Linked DNA regions of Homo sapiens: regions 1, 3, 4, 5 and 6 are each linked to region 2. The links are contacts of gene promoters, found by promoter capture Hi-C in blood cells and fetal thymus (Javierre and others, 2016). All regions are on one chromosome and are shown on one strand. Each heading gives the region's core, a stretch centred on a gene start or on the middle of the fragment in contact. The rest is flanking DNA. Distances are from core to core; before and after follow the strand shown. Region 1 overlaps NAP1L1 (nucleosome assembly protein 1 like 1). Region 2 holds the start of GLIPR1 (GLI pathogenesis related 1). Region 3 has its middle 13 kb from the start of PHLDA1-AS1. Region 4 holds the start of BBS10 (Bardet-Biedl syndrome 10). Region 5 has its middle 70 kb from the start of NAP1L1. Region 6 overlaps OSBPL8 (oxysterol binding protein like 8).

Evidence for each region. The method cuts DNA at HindIII sites, captures the fragments that hold promoters and counts their contacts. A CHiCAGO score of 5 or more calls a contact.
Region 1: a contact is called between a fragment that was not itself captured here and the fragment with the promoter of GLIPR1 in region 2, in 8 of 17 cell types (activated CD4 T cells, naive CD4 T cells, naive CD8 T cells and 5 more). The highest score is 9.8, in activated CD4 T cells.
Region 3: a contact is called between a fragment that was not itself captured here and the fragment with the promoter of GLIPR1 in region 2, in 8 of 17 cell types (naive CD8 T cells, total CD8 T cells, total CD4 T cells and 5 more). The highest score is 11.9, in naive CD8 T cells.
Region 4: the fragment with the promoter of BBS10 here is called in contact with the fragment with the promoter of GLIPR1 in region 2 in 2 of 17 cell types (naive B cells and total B cells); the score reaches 8.6 in naive B cells.
Region 5: a contact is called between a fragment that was not itself captured here and the fragment with the promoter of GLIPR1 in region 2, in 4 of 17 cell types (monocytes, M0 macrophages, M2 macrophages and 1 more). The highest score is 6.8, in monocytes.
Region 6: a contact is called between a fragment that was not itself captured here and the fragment with the promoter of GLIPR1 in region 2, in 4 of 17 cell types (total CD4 T cells, activated CD4 T cells, monocytes and 1 more). The highest score is 6.4, in total CD4 T cells.

What each region holds. Positions count from the first base shown.
Region 1 is chr12:76,049,871-76,052,570 of GRCh38, reverse strand. It overlaps NAP1L1 (nucleosome assembly protein 1 like 1), which reads left to right. Exons shown (of 15, transcript NM_004537.7): 12 at 1,918-2,040. Among named protein-coding and RNA genes, the nearest start is that of PHLDA1-DT, 19 kb to the right of the region's middle. The HindIII fragment of the contact is 3,492 bases long and covers 1-2,700 here.
Region 2 is chr12:75,479,334-75,482,033 of GRCh38, reverse strand. It overlaps GLIPR1 (GLI pathogenesis related 1), which reads right to left and starts at 1,279. Exons shown (of 6, transcript NM_006851.3): 1 at 980-1,279; 2 at 1-200. The coding sequence starts at 1,153. The HindIII fragment of the contact is 5,495 bases long and covers 1-2,700 here.
Region 3 is chr12:76,016,223-76,018,922 of GRCh38, reverse strand. No RefSeq gene overlaps it. Among named protein-coding and RNA genes, the nearest start is that of PHLDA1-AS1, 13 kb to the left of the region's middle. The HindIII fragment of the contact is 6,475 bases long and covers 1-2,700 here.
Region 4 is chr12:76,346,965-76,349,664 of GRCh38, reverse strand. BBS10 (Bardet-Biedl syndrome 10) reads left to right here and starts at 1,250. Exons shown (of 2, transcript NM_024685.4): 1 at 1,250-1,503; 2 at 1,878-2,700. The coding sequence starts at 1,307. RefSeq lists enhancers at 849-898, 45-994, 995-1,944. The HindIII fragment of the contact is 11,737 bases long and covers 1-2,700 here.
Region 5 is chr12:76,153,738-76,156,437 of GRCh38, reverse strand. No RefSeq gene overlaps it. Among named protein-coding and RNA genes, the nearest start is that of NAP1L1, 70 kb to the right of the region's middle. The HindIII fragment of the contact is 904 bases long and covers 867-1,770 here.
Region 6 is chr12:76,370,543-76,373,242 of GRCh38, reverse strand. OSBPL8 (oxysterol binding protein like 8) reads left to right here. Exons shown (of 24, transcript NM_020841.5): 19 at 1,659-1,795. Among named protein-coding and RNA genes, the nearest start is that of BBS10, 23 kb to the right of the region's middle. The HindIII fragment of the contact is 2,592 bases long and covers 17-2,608 here.

The DNA of each region.
Region 1 (2,700 bases), core at 178-2,677, 570 kb before region 2:
TTTTGGGCATGTTTTTGAATTTAAATTAACTGAGATAGTTTAAATAGTTTGTACATATATGGAATTAGAAATTAACCTAAACTGAATACTTTTGAATTGGAATACTCTTGGCTAAGACTTAGAACAAATTTGTAAAAGGCAAAAGTAAGTATTTCTGGCTTGGCTTATAGGACAAAAAAAGAGAACATAAAGCAGTGTGAATTTCAGGTGAGAAAAACTACTTTAAGTATTAAGATAGAGCATCACACTATTTTCATATCAGTGGATGGGTTGGAGTTTGTGTTCAAGTTTGGGGTTTTTTTTTGTTTGTTTGTTTGTTTGTTACTAAATATTGATGATGACAAAACAGTCTAGTTAAGGATAGAAAACCTCCACCTGTGGTTTGAATTCCTCCCCACCCCCTTTTGGATTTTTCTATTTATTAGATTATGTTGTTGACTCAAACATTCATGGAATTCACAGAGGGTGTGCTCATTGTTTAGTATCATAGAACTTGTATCATTGTTTAGTATCATAGAAGTGGGATTATTTTATTTTATTATTATTATTTTTTTTTTGAGATGAAGTATTGCTCTGTCATCCAGGCTGGAGTGCAGTGGTGCGATCTCCACTCACCACAACCTCTGCCTCCCGGGTTCAAGCAATTCTCCTGCCTCAGCCTCCCGAGTAGCTGGGATTACAGGCACGTGCCATTGAACTCGCTAATTTTTGTATTTTTAGTAGAGACGGGGTTTCACCATGTTGGCCAGGCTGGTCTTGAACTCCTGACCTCAGGTAATCTGCCTGCCTTGGCCTCCCAAAGTCCTGGGATTACAGGCATGAGCCAGGCCAAAGTGGGATTATTTTAATTGTGAATAATGTCAGACCCACTTTTGCCCTGTGCTTTTCTATTAAATAGAAATCCTAAGCCAGGTACAGCTTCAGGCACCTGTAGTCCCAGCTGCTCTGGTGGCGGAGGTGGAAGGATCACTTGAGGCCAGCCTGGGCAACATAGCGAGACCCTGTCTCTAAAAAAGAAAAGTGCTAGGGGCACCTGATTTAGTTAGTATATTGTCTTTCTGAACTAGGACTGTCTCATTTGGGATTAGTAGACTTAAAACTGTACAGCTGTTTGGGTACTGTCTTTTAGGAACTATAAAGTGATCCTCTGTGGTTGTTTATTATGTCCTTCTATTTGCTATGTACTTAACAATATTAACAATAACTATATATTAACAATAACCCAAGGGTTTTTTTTTTTATTTTTCTATTTGGTGTTTTCAATAATATTTTAAAAGGAAAATTGCGGACATGTAACAGTTGCTTTTATGTATTTATGTTTAAACCAGCAAAAACTAAGCAGTTCTAATTTTTATTCTTCACAATTTATCTTAGTATGCATACTGGCCTGCTAGCTTATTTTCTTTTTGTTAAAAACTTGGAAAAGTTATTAAGGAAATTTAAAAATGACAAATCATTTGTTAACATGGTGTGAGAAAAATCATGGAAAGTAAAAAGTAAAGTTGAGCATTTCTTCCCTTCATCATATAATTTAAACTGAAGAGTCTGTCTTTTTTTTTTTTTTTTTTCGGTTGCCCAGGCTAGAGTACACTGGTGTGATCACAGCTCATTTCAGCCTCAAGCTGCTGGGCTCCAGCAATCTTCCCACCTCAGCCTCTCAAGTAGCTGAGACTACAGGCGTGTGCCACCCTGCCCAGTTAATTGTTTATTTTTTGTACAAACGCAGGGGGCGTCTCACTATGTTGCTTAGGTTGCTCTTGAACTTCTGGGCTCAAGTGATCCTCCTACTTTGGCCTCCTGAAGTGTTGGGACTACAGTTGTGAGCCATCACACCCAGCCTCTAAGAGTCTTACATGTGCCAAATTAAGTAACACAGTTATTCCTAAATTTTCTGCTTTTGTTTTCCTTTAAAAATAGGATGATGATGCTGAAGCTATCCTTGCTGCAGACTTCGAAATTGGTCACTTTTTACGTGAGCGTATAATCCCAAGATCAGTGTTATATTTTACTGGAGAAGCTATTGAAGATGATGATGATGATGTAAGCGAATTTGAATCCTGCAAAGAAATAATTGGTTGAGGGTATAGTGGTCAGAATTGGTAATAGATTAGTTTAGTTTTTAAGAAGCAGGACATAATATAATTCAAAATTAGGCTAATTACTGATGTTCTGTATATAGCTTTTCTGGGTTTTAAGTATGTCTCCTTAGGATTTTTGGATTCATTTATCTTAGCTTTTAATTTTCTGCTAATAAGATTGTTCTGAGTTTATGAAACTTTTTTATGTTTGGTTAGTGCTATAGATCTATTATGCCCTTGCCTTGACTTCACAGAGCTAGGACTTTCTTTAGTGCACAAGAAAACATTTACTGGGAGGCATAGAATTTCTATTCAAGGTAGTATTGAATGATGGTTAGGTTAAGATTAGGTTGCATATAGATGTTTTGAATATGTTTATTGCTCAACGGCAATTGTTAGAGTAGGCTTTAGGTCCTTTTCGTACAGTGCATTCCACACTTAAGTGTAGGTGAGTAATATTTACAGTAATACTTGTCTGATCATCCACTTTATCCACATGATTGTACTCTGTTCTTTAATTTTATAAATTGGCAGTGAGCAGAGTGATTCTTGCAGCTACTATGTGTTTTAATTTATAATCAGCCCCTTGATAGGAAAGTAGGTTTTCTCTTTTTAGACACTA
Region 2 (2,700 bases), core at 30-2,529:
TCATAGTCCTGGATTTCGTCATACCAGTTTGTGATGGCGGAAGACACAGAAAAAATGGGCACAGACCCAGTCCAGATGTTCTCTCCCAGTGAAGTGAAGTTTGGGTGCAGCTTGTGGGGTGGCTTCAGCCGTGTATTATGTGAAAACTGGCAATTGCTGGCCCATGCTTTTGCAATTTGGGCTAGTGCTGGGTCCCAAGTCTGCAAAAATAAACATTAAACAATAGGGGGTTCATCTGAAATGTAACTGGGGTGAGTACAGTGGGAATTTGAATGGAAAACGAGGTGAGATAAGGAGAGAAGATACCACTGCATATGAGTCCTCTATAAATATGGTCTTCAAGCACTGAGTAGGGCTGGTAGGAAACGTGACAATTTAGTTTCATGGAATTTAGAATCTAAGTGAGGAAAACTGACATTTCACTGAAGGCTAATTGTGGGCAAAATAGTGTGTGCCGTGTTTCACAACATTATTCCATAACCACAACAGCCCATATCCTAAGAAGTTCAGAAAGGTTAAAAACCAGCTTAAAGCCACAGATCTGAAATTCAATCCCAAGCCTTACTGAATCAAAATCCCATCCTTTCCCCAGATGCCATTCTGCCTACCTGAGCAACTCAGTACTTTGTCAGCAGCAAAAAAAGTAAATTTAGAGACAAAAAAAAAAAAAAAAAAAGAAAACCAAATCACAAAAATTAACAGGGAGGAAGATAACAAAAAGAGAAGTAAAATCCACTGAAAACCAGAAAACAGGAAGTGTCCAAAGAGAAGTAAAATGTGCTGTGGCACTTGCTTATAACAACAGTTGGGTAGACAGAGCTAAACTGGATGTGTTTTGATCACAGACTGTGAATTTACTGCATACATTAATCACAATGAAAAAAAAATCATTCAGTATTACGAAGGTATTAACACCAAAGTCAATACACATTAGTTGTTTCTGACTGACTGACGCCACAATTAATGATATTTTCCTTACCATGTATAGCATATCACTGGCTGTTGGTTTCACCTCTGATCGGAACTTGTTATGGATTCGAACGCAGTCTTTGATGAAATCTTCATTTTCGATATCTGGCAAAATATTTGCTGTGTGTGAATAATTGGAGACAAAAGAAACCATCCAGGCTATTGTAGCAAGTGTGACACGCATGCTTTGTCTGGCATGGAGCCTTGGGAGGCTGCAGTCCAGAGCCGCCGCAGTTTCTGAGAGTGTGATTGCCTGAGTGCTCAGCCCACAGCTTTGCAAACCTAGCCGACTTCAGCTTTGAGAAAACAGAACAGAGCATGAGTTCATCACTAGTTTTAAGAAACGGGTTTCTCCATATATGGTGTGCAGCTCACTTTGTGTTCTTAACCCTGTCTTTTCAGTGGTTTTCAGTGACACAGCACCTATTACGACATAGATTTTTATGAGGCTGTGTCAGACTTCCTTTTGAATTGGGAGATATTTCCAAAGAAAATTCTGAAGTCTCCAGGAATAATAGTCTCCAATTTTTAATGGAGGTTGCGGTGATAAAATGAAAATATCTCTTACTTCTATAAATGCCTCGCAAAATGCTTTCAGAAATCTTTTTCTTTTTAGAGTCATATCAACACATAGTGGTTGGAATATCTGGTTAACATCATAAACTTGACCTAGAATTCATTCACGATGGTAGAAACATGTAAGCGTGTATGTGTGTGTGTGTGTGTGTGTGTGAGAGAGAGAGAGGGAGAGAAAGAGAGAGAGAGAGAAAGAGAGAGAGGGATTGAGAGGGAGAATAGTAGAAAGAATACAGGACTCAAGTTGAGAATTTAGTTTCTGTTTCTAACTAGCTGTAAGACCTTGGACAGGATACAAAACTCTCTAAACCTCAGCCACCTATTGAATGAGACTATGGGACCTTTTCTGCTTCCTTAATTACAGAGGTTTGGCAGGATCAAATGAACTAGCTAATATTAAATTCCTGCCTTGTATATTCACCTTAGTAATACAGAAATAAAAACACAGTCACTGGCCCCAAGGAGCTTACAGTGGTAAGAGCTGTGAGATGGTGATGACAAGGATGTTACAACAGGGGCTGTTGGAGATCTGGATATAGGAAAGCACAGGTAGATATGGACACACAAGAGAGCATACTTAACCCATTCTGGAAACGGCAGAGCCGGCCTACATACAGCAGGTGAGGTCTTTGCTGAGGCTAGAATCAGCTAGGTGTTGATCAAGTGAAAAAGCGCTGGAGAGGAGAAGGGAATTAGAGGGATAGGAACTATATATCTAGTTGTGAAATTGAAGACATGGTGTTATGGCAAGAATAGAGCAAGAACCTCTCCATATTGTCTCCCTCTGTAAATATGGTCTGTAAATAAGTAGTGATTCTGACTGGTAGAAAACTTGATACCTGGTGTCATGGAATTCAGAATCCAAATGATGCTTTCATGCCACTTGGGGGAGAGAAGTTAAGAGTCAGATCAGGAAGGATTTCTCAATTCTGCTAATGATTTTTTATTTTATCACCAAAGTCATGGGAAGTTATTGGAGGATTTTAGCTGTAGGTGGGGTTTAGACCTGGTTTTAGAAAACACGTGTATTTTAGAAAATTAAGAGAGATGGAAAATGGAATGAGGTGGGGAAATATTTCTAATGCAAACAAAAAGTAAAGAAACATTCCAGGCACACCTGTAGCCCCACCTACTCAGAAAGTTGAGGTGGGAGGA
Region 3 (2,700 bases), core at 145-2,644, 540 kb before region 2:
CCTCAGGTCTTGAAATTACCTGTGGAGTTGAAAAATGTTGAAGTGATTTGAATGTTTATACAGTTACTTGAGGAGGTAGCTGCCTAGATTTGTAGCCTGTGTAGGTGTTGGGAGAAATATTTTCTGAAAAGGTTGGTTGAGGGTAGTGGATCTATGGGCACTGGTGAGATCCTAATACGTGGAGTGATAAAAATTTGTTGCTGCCCTTCTGGGCAACTAGGTGAATGCAATTCACATAGCTCCAAATTAAACCATAAATAACAGTTTTTGACCTACCTAGGATATTAAGAACTTCAAACCACACAATGTTTTCTTGTGTGCTTCTTTTACTTAAGGATTTAACTTGGAGAAGATTTTAGAGTTTGTAATAACTTTTCATGAAAGGATAGGGAGAAAAAAGGAGCAGGATCTTTAATAAGTAGATGTACTTCTGCATCCAGCAATCCGGCTTTTAATTCAAAATTGTGTATGTGCTCTGGGTGATGCCAACATTTCCTCTTACATAAAGTGACCTTTTACGGGGTTTCATTCATAGCACTTGGCTCCCTCCTGGAGTCACAGTGCTTGTCACAAGGCAGTGGATTGCCTGCTGGTTCTTATGCAAGTGATGACTGGGAGGGCTGATAGGGGGTAACGCGGACAGCCTCTCTCTCTGACAGCAGATTGTCAGCATTCTTGACCCGGGCACTCTAAGAGCCTGGGAAAACACTTTGATTTCAATGTGGCTTTAAAAAATGATATTCAGTTGAACCAAATGACTGTGTAAAATAGGACCACAGGGCAGGCCAGGAGCGGTGGCTCATGCCTGTAATCCCAGCACTTTGGGATGCCAAGGTGGGCGGATCACCTGAGGTGAGGAGTTCAAGACCAGCCTGGCCAACATGGTGAAACCCCTTCTCTACTAAAAATACAAAAAATTAGCTGGGCTTGGTGGCAGGCGCCTGTAATCCCAGCTACTCGGGAGGCTGAGACAGGAGAATTGCTTGAACCCAGGAGGCGGAGATTGCGGTGAGCCAAGATCACGCCATTGCACTCTAGCCTGGGCAACAAGAGTGAAACTCCGTCTCAAAAAAAAAACACCCTGTTGTTACAGATAAATCAAAATAAGTGTATTAAGATAAAGATTTACTTCTCTTTTATGTAAAAGTAACCTAGATGTGGGTGGCCCAGGGTGGGTAAGGTGACTTTAGTTTGTCACAGATCCGGGTTCCTTCTTTCTTTTCTCTTCTACCACCCTTGGTACAGGACTTCTAGCCTCATGATTCAAGATGGCTGCTGGAGTTCCAGCTACCATATTCGAGCTCTAGAACAGGAAGAAAGAAAATTAGGGAAACAGCAGCTCACTGCAGCCTCAACCTCCTGGGCTCAGGTGATCCCCCTGCCTCAGCCTCCTGAGAAGCTGGGATCACAGGCACGCACCACCACACTCAACTAATTTTTAAATTATTTGTAGAGACAGGGTCTCCCTATGTTGCCCAGACTTGTCTCGAACTCCTGGACTTAAGTGATTCTCTCAACTTGGCCTCCCATAGTGCTGGGATTACAAGTTTGAGCTACCATATCCAGCCTAGAAAAATTTTGGAATCCCAATATGGTGACTTCCACTTAACACCACATTTGCTATCCAGGGTTGCAAAGGAGGGCTAGAAATGTACTGGCCAAATTGCCATCCCAAATAAAATTAGGGTTCTGTCAGCAAAGAAGGAGGGGAGAATGGTTATTGGAAAGGAAACTAGCAGCCTCTATTATAGGTCTTATTAGCCTCTACTTAATAGATAAGAAATTGAGGATTGGGGAACTGAAGAAACTTGCCAAATAAACAGCAGGATGAGAATTGTTATCTGGGTATTTAACTCCACTGCCTTTGCGCTTAAACGCTATGCAAACTGTGGCTGTGTGCTAGCACTAAAATACGATGCAGACCTCTCTCAGAGATGGGAATGCTCTTAAAGACATTAATTTAGAGTATTTTAGGTATTCTTTTTTTTTTTTTTTTTTTTTTGAGACGGAGTCTTGCACTCTCACCCAGGCTGGAGTGCAGTGGCGTGATCTCGGCTCACTGCAAGCTCTGCCTCCCGGGTTCACGCCATTCTCCTGCCTCAGCCTCCCGAGTAGCTGGGACTACAGGCGCCCACCACCACACCCAGCTAATTTTTTTTGTATTTTTAGTAGAGAAGGGGTTTCACCATGTTAACCAGGATGGTCTCGATCTCCTGACTTCGTGATCCGCCCGCCTCGGCCTCCCCAAGTGCTGGGATTACAGGCGTGAGCCACCGCGCCCGGCTATTTTAGGTATTCTTATAATTCTTACTAAGGTTTACACTTTCCTTTCTCATATGGTACTGTTGTAATGATTTTCAATTGGTCCTTCGTTACATCTGAACAATTTAAATAGAACAAAACTAAATTTCAAAACAGAAATACGTAGTTGCTTTCAGTGCCTTCCTGTCAGAGTCATATTGACATGGTAAAGATATAAGAAAGATCGAAGGTTCTTAGCGGAAACTGGAGCAATAAAGCCAGAGACACCATCAGTGGTGCTTGCTGGTTTTGCAGAAGCTAGCTCCCTTAGAGACGTCATGTCCAGCACCAATCACAGAGTCTATCAAAAGATCCAAATCAAGAAAACAGGAGAAGAATCTCAGGCTTTTCATTCATGCTCAACAAGAGGAGCATGCTTTTACACTATCCCGGGAGATT
Region 4 (2,700 bases), core at 1-2,500, 870 kb before region 2:
CAGGAATTCAAGATCAGCCTGGGCAACACAGGGAGACCCTGTCTCTACTAAAAGAGAAAATAACCAGGCGTAGTGAGGCACAAAGCGACTTGAAGGCTAAGACAGGAGGATCACGAGCTCAGGAATGCGGAGCTGCAGTAAGCTATGATCTCGCCACTGCACTCCAGCCTGGGCGGCAGAGTGAAACTTCATCTCTTAAAAAACAAAAAAAATGTTATAAGAGACAGTATTTTCTGTCTTTGGGTTATATACAATAATCCTTGGCCATGTGTTTTAAAGCATACTGTTGATCACCGACGTGATTAATGGATTTAAATCTGCACAGCGGCTCATGCCTGTAATCCCAACACTCTGAAAGGCCGTGGCAGGTGGATCATTCAGGTCATGAGTTCGAGACCAGCCTGGTCAACATGGTGACATCCCCATCTCTACTAAAAATACAAATATTGGCGGGGCACAGTGGCGTATGCCTGTAATCCCAGCTACTTGAGAGGCTGAGGCACGGGAATCGCTTGAGCCCGGGAGGCGGAGGTTGCAGTCAGCCGAGATTGCGCCACTGCACTCCAGCCTGGGCGACAGAGCGGGAGTCCATCTCAAAAAATAGAGACTTCGCATCATTTCTGCTTAATATATTTGTGGTGTCTAGAGTTTTATTGTGATACCTGAGTCTAGGAAATGTGGTAAAGCCTCTGCAGCAGACATAAAGCCTGCAATTCATGGCTGTGGCCAGGCTCTCCTCACCTGTCCTGCATCTACAAATTATTTCCGTTATGGTAAGGAGAGCAACTCGTGGGGAATGTGGACAGGAACATGCGTGAATCCAAGGCAGAGGTTTTGCCCCGGAAAAAGCAGCTTCTGGCAGGGGATGAAAGCCAGCAGAGTTCCAACCGGGGTGCCCTCTCCTTCACGCAGGCCCCACTACCGTGTTGACTTAGGAAGAAAGTTTCTCGGGAGACTAAGGGATTTGGGGGCAGCGGACGCCACTGGAGGGAGATGAATTCACCTAGGGAGCCGGGGAGGGGCTTAGGGTTGCCGCTCCAGGCACAGCTGCTGGAAATCCTAGTCTGTTTTTTCTGCCTTCGCGTACAACGGGCCAGCTCACCCCACCTGGCAAAGCTGCAGGGCTTTTCCACCAGGCGGACAGAAGGGCAGCCCTCTCGCCCAACCAAGAAGCCGTGCTACCCCGGCTTCGACTCCTGGCTTCCGGGTTTTCTCCCCGCCTATTCCGTTTCCGGCCGTTCCCACCCCTGTTTTCGGTCGGCCCGGGTGTTCTGCAAGCTGGTCAAAAAGGGGAAGCGGCCCAGATATGTTAAGTTCTATGGCCGCTGCAGGGTCTGTGAAGGCGGCGTTGCAGGTGGCCGAGGTGCTGGAAGCCATCGTGAGCTGCTGCGTGGGGCCCGAGGGACGGCAAGTTTTGTGTACGAAGCCCACTGGCGAGGTGCTTCTCAGCCGGAATGGAGGCCGCCTCCTGGAGGCGCTACACTTAGAGCATCCCATAGCCAGGTACCCGCGTCCCACACGCTAACCCGTAGCCGGGCACCCCAGGCAGCCTCTGTGGAGCTCTTGTCCCATCCTGAGGCGATGCGTACTTAGAAAGACTGACCTCGGGTGAAACCGCTGTATGCTCGGAATTAGAGCCCTGCCCAAGGGAACACTCCTGCACCCCAAATCTTACCAATTCTCAAGACCACTTCTCCCCACTCCACCCAACGGTGGAATCTTGGAATAGAGCAGAGTTTTTTCCAAGAAAGGAAAAAACTAAGGATGTATCCAAGGAACAATATTCTCATTTTATGCTTATGGCTGTGTAAACATGGTTTTAAGATGTGGGAAGCCAGCCTTCTGAAAATGAGTTGCTTTATTTCTTTTTTGTACAGGATGATAGTGGACTGTGTTTCCAGTCATCTCAAAAAAACAGGAGATGGTGCAAAAACATTTATTATCTTTCTTTGCCATTTGCTTAGAGGACTTCATGCAATCACAGACAGAGAAAAGGATCCTTTGATGTGTGAAAACATTCAAACCCATGGAAGGCATTGGAAAAATTGTTCTCGGTGGAAATTTATTTCCCAGGCTCTCCTAACGTTTCAGACACAAATATTAGACGGTATTATGGACCAGTACCTAAGTAGACACTTTTTGTCTATCTTTTCGTCTGCTAAAGAGAGAACATTGTGTAGGAGCTCTTTAGAGTTGCTCTTAGAAGCATACTTTTGTGGAAGAGTGGGAAGAAATAATCATAAATTTATTTCACAGTTGATGTGTGACTACTTTTTCAAGTGTATGACTTGTAAAAGTGGGATTGGTGTATTTGAGTTAGTGGATGACCATTTTGTAGAGTTGAATGTTGGTGTCACTGGCCTTCCTGTTTCAGATTCCAGGATCATAGCTGGTCTTGTGCTTCAGAAAGATTTTTCTGTGTACCGCCCAGCAGATGGTGACATGCGAATGGTGATAGTAACAGAAACCATTCAGCCTCTTTTTTCCACTTCTGGATCAGAGTTTATTCTAAATTCAGAAGCACAGTTTCAGACATCTCAATTTTGGATTATGGAAAAGACAAAAGCAATAATGAAACATCTACATAGTCAGAATGTAAAATTGCTCATATCTAGTGTGAAACAACCAGATTTAGTTAGTTATTATGCAGGGGTGAATGGCATATCAGTGGTTGAGTGTTTATCATCAGAAGAAGTTTCT
Region 5 (2,700 bases), core at 69-2,568, 670 kb before region 2:
GTCTCCATTTTATAGGGAGGAAAGAGCAACAGAAAAATATTATGTCACCCAGCTTGTGAGAGGCAAAGTAAGAACTCTAAGCCAGAACCCAGATCATATTGTAGCAATCATTCAAAAAAGAAATGACAGTTTTCATCTTCTGATTTGTGCTATACATTTTGGCAATATCCTTAATATCTTGTGAGTGAGAATCTACTAAAAGGAAGTTGCCCAGCTTAGATATGAAGAAGTGGAACATGGCATGCTATAGAACAAAGTACATTGGACTAGAGATTGAGATTTGAGTTCCGCCCTCAGCTCAACAAATGACAACTGCTGTGACCTTGAGCAAGTCACCACATTTTGCTGGGCCTCCAGTTCCTCATCTACAAAATGATGTCTTAGCATTAGGAAACTTTCATCACAAGAAACATTTTGCAAAATCCCAATGTGTAAAACAGATAACAGATAAGAGAGCTCTGGTGGAGGAGGGGCCGAGGGGCCCAAGACCTAACTTTTTTTTTTTTTTTTTTTTTTGAGACAGAGTCTTGCTCTGTTGCCCAGGCTGGATTGCAGTGGCGTGATCTCTAGTCACTGAAACCTCCACATCCCGGGTTCATGTGATTCTCCTGCCTCAGCCTCCCGAGAAGCTGGGATTACAAGCATGTGCCACCACGCCCAGCTAATTTTTGTATTTTTAGTAGAGATGGGGTTTCGCTATGTTGACCAGGCTGCTCTCAATCTCCTGACCTCAGGTGATCCACCCACCTTGGTCTCCCAAAGTGCTGGGATTACAGGAGTGAGCCACCATGCCTTGTCCTGGGCCTAACTTTTTGGTCTTGCTTTTCCACTTGGAATCAATAGTGGCCAAGGCCCCTTTATAAGCTTAGGGCACTGAACCACATTACTATAAATTCCCTCTCAATGTTTATGTTTTAACAGTTATTTCCTTTCTCCTAGGCTTTTCCAAAATGTGAGGCATATGGAAAATTCAGGCAACACCCTGTTACTTATTCATCACTTAAGCCATGTTTTGGCTCAGAAGATACCAAGCAAAGCTGAATATTACTGTATTTCAGAAAGGGGAGTATTTCTTCAGTGCTCATCTTGGGGGTCTTCATAAAAAATGATTGACAGCTGACAGCTAATGTCTATTTTCACTTCATTGCCTTATGGGAAGAGATAACCATGAGCAGGCCATTTGGGAAAGTGAGGAATATTATCTAAGAATCATGATCCACAGAACCTGTTCACGGGTGAGGAGAAAGGGACGAGGTAGGGGGAAAACATCCCTAGCACAACCAGATTCTCCCCCATTATAAACGAGGAAAGTAAAAAACAGGGTCATGCTGCATTAATGTCTAGGTTTATTAGACTTACTACTTTTCTGGGCACAGTGGTAGACTTACTACCTTTCTGTAGTCCCAGTGATTCAGGAGGGTGAGGCAGGAGGATTCCTTGAGGCCAGGAGTTTGAGATTAGCCTGGGCAACATAGACCCTGTCTCAGAAAAATCAAAAAGAATTACTACCTTCCTCACACTGAAGGATTCTCAAACATTATTACATGGAGAATGAGCTCTCTTTGTGACCGTTCTCTAGAGGTTTTGACTCACTACTCTCTGTCTCTCACCCAGGGATTGAGTCTCAGCTAAATCCCTTTTCCATCAGTCACCAAAGATGCCCATTCACTAAATTATGCATACATGTTTTTTTGCCCAGCGAGGCCAGATCTATTTGCTCTTATAGAAAAATAAAGCATTTTTGCTGTTTTCCTTTTGTTTCTGCAAGCTTTTAGTCCATGGTGACATCATGGAAGCTTAAAACTTGAGAAGCCTACTCTCACAGCCCATGGACAGCCTTTCCTCACCCCAACCCCATCTATAATCACCACACTTTGGTCCAACTGCAACTGCTCTGTGTGGCATCAAGTTCTACAGGTAATCTGAAACTAAAATCATGAAAGAAAAGTAGGATTTGTGTTGTCGAATGGGATTTTTTTTTTTCGACTTGCCTGATTTGCAACTCAATCAGCAGGTAAGGCTAAAATAAAATATACAATCCAGGCCAGGCGTGGTGGTGCATGCCTGCAATCCCAGCACTTTGGGAGGCTGAGGCGGGTGAATCACTTGAGGTCAGGAGTTTGAGACCAGCCTGGCCAATATGGTGAAGACCCGTCTCTACTAAAAATACAAAAATTAACTGGGCGCGGTGGTGAGTGCCTGTAATCCCAGTTACTTAGAAGGCTGAGGCAGGAGAATTGCTGGAACCTGGGAAGTGGAGGTTGCAGTGAGCCAAAATCACACCACTGCCCTCCAGCCTTGGTGACAGAGTGAGACTCAGTCTCAAAAAAAAAAGTGCATATATATATATATATATAAATTTATATATATATTATATATATACACACACACAATGGCGGATGCTTTGTCTATATTTCTAAAATGTTAAGCTTCATACAAACTATGTACTGGTGGTGAATTGCAAAAATGACTATAATTTTTTCCCATCTCTGTAAGCATACCTCTTTAAAATGTGAATTTGAAGCTCCTCCCACCAAGAGGTAGATTCTATTTCACCATACCTTGCGTCTGGGCTTGGCTGTGTGACTTGATTTAGAAAATGAGACTAGCAAATAAGAAGCAAGCAGAGACTTGCACATTATGCCTTGTTCTCTTTTGCTGTGGTTAGAACCCTGAGATCTCCATGTGGAGGAGCCCAAA
Region 6 (2,700 bases), core at 63-2,562, 890 kb before region 2:
CTATTTAACATAAGCTTCATCTTAATAGCAGATATTTTGGTGGTGTTCTGTTATCAACAGTAGTTAATTTTGTGTAATATTTTATTTCCAAAACTTAAAATCAGTAGAAATAGCTAACACTTATATATGACTTACTGCATTATTTAAGAATGTTACTCATATTAACTGATTTAATATTTATAACATATAACGCTATGAGGTGAGTATATAGGTGCCATGCCCATTTTATTATTGTTTATTATTGTCCCCATTTTACAGAAGAGGACACTGAGGCACAGAGAGTTCACATAATTTGCTCAAAGTAGGTAGTGGAACAAGAATTAAAGCCCAGGAACCCTGGCCCCAGGACTGTGCTTTTATGCACAGCACTCTACTCACATAGAAGAAAGAGGCATAGTTCCAATTAGAGTTATATTCCTTTCAGTGGAACATGGAAAGGATATAGTGGTGTGTGAGAGCAATGGCTTTTATTTACTTCTCTGCTAACCTAAATTCATATTTATGTAATTTTGTTAAGAGACGCTTAAATGAATAAAAAGAATCATGGTACTGCATGGATATACCATACTATGAGCACTGAGTATATGCTCCTTTCTGCATGCAGTAAGCAGAAAATGTTGAGAAATATGAGAAAGTGAAGTTAGGGACTTTGTTAAGTGGCCACATACACTCTGAAAATTTTTTTTAATTGCCTTAAATCTGAGAGTCTTCTGGAAAAAAGATAAAGCAGCAGTCATTTTTAAAAAATGAAATTTCTGTCTGGGTGGGGTGGCTCACACCTATAATTCCAGCACTTTGGGAAGCTCAGGAGTTTGAGATCAGCCTGGGTGACATAACAAGACCTCTTCTCTACTAAACATAAAAATAAAAAAATTAGATGGGCATGATGGCACATGCCTGTCCCAGCTACTCAGGAAGCTAAGGCAGGAAGATTGCTTGAGCCTGGGAGGTGGAAGCTGCAGTGAGCCATGATTGTGCTACTGCCCTCCAGCCTGGGTGAGAAAGCAAGACCCTGTCTCAGACAGATAGATAAGATAGAGATGAGAGTGAGAGATGACAGAGAGAGAGAGAAGGAGAAGGATGGTTAAACAGGTAGATAAATTAGATAGGTAAAATAGATTAGATAGATAAGGTAGATAGCACCGCTGCACTCCAGCCTACACAAGAGAGCAAGACCGTCCATGTCTTAGATAGAAAGATTATTCGATAGAGATAGACCTCAAATTTTTAATGCTAGTAAAGGCTCTTTCAGAGGGATGTGTGTGTGTGTATGTTTGAGTATATTGAATCCATGGATAGTCAACAGCATCTCATTGTAGCTGCAACAAATACTATGCTCTACTTGGACAGTTTGGAGATGGTTATTGAGGCTTTGCATGTAATGTTTGAAATTTATTAAGTAAAACTTATGAAATTTCACAAACTGGATATTCAACCAAATTCTTTTTAATTAACTAGTATTACGTAGTCAATCTTAATGTTTTTATAAAAATGATAAGAAACTTGGAGTTTTTGGAAAAGTGCTAGTTATATTTGTTTTAAAAATGCTTTTAACTGGAGGATTAACCAGAAGAAATTATCACCGTCATATTACTATACTATATAATTGCCTTCTAAGTATAATTCTTTACATTAATTTTGAATTTTTTTAAATATAGGATAGTGAAGTTTTTATTACTGATAAAAAGACTGATAATTCAGAGGTTTTCTGGAATCCAACACCTGACATTAAGCAATGGAGATTAATAAGGCACACTGTAAAATTTGAAGAACAGGGAGATTTTGAATCAGAGAAGTAAGTATACTGTTTTACAGCTAACTTCATGAGGATCAGAGAGTAGTTTTTCAATTCCTTAATGATATGGTCATTTTGTCACCTTCTGTCATATCTTAATTCAGCAAAATAGTTTATCATTTGTGGAAGTGACAGTATTCTGTTTTTGTGTATATGAATGTCAAATATAATATAAATCGTCTTGCTTTTCTGTAGCTCAAAACTACTCATTTTTTTCTTTCTCAATTGTTCCAGCACCTTAAAAAAAAAGAAAGAAAGAACGTTTTTGTTTAAATAAGATTACAGGACTAATTAATGACTCTTAGTTTCTACCTGGCAACAGTTTTCTAACCTGATTTAAGCATTAGAACTCTAGGTAAAGGGAGTGGTGCAGAATCTACTTCTGTTCCATTCTCTGATACAAAAGTAAAGTTACTGGATGGACTGGCTTCTATAGGATTTATTAGTTGGGTAATAACTAAGGCTATCATTTCTGTTCTTAAGTCATGAACTTCTTGCTAGATGGCTTATATTTTTGAATCAGAAATATTGTATACACATTCCCTATTTTATTGTTGTTATATCTTTGTGTTAAGAGAAAGAGACTTATGTATAAGAGATATTTTGCTAGGCACTTAGTACTTATTATGCAACTTTGTCCTCCCTACATGTTTGCACATACATATCATTCTCTGTCATGGGAATTCAAGTCTGTGTACCTTCCCTTCTACACTCAAATTTGAGGTTGTCAAAGATGGAAGAATGTATATGTACCAGTTCTAAAAATTCTGTCTCAGCCATAACCATTTGATGTTCTTTTTCCAGAGATAAGCTTTGCCAAGGCATACATATGATAATTTGTGAGAGTATATAATTCAGCATATTTGAAGATGAGGAAATGAGACTTAGGATAAATAACTTTAAGT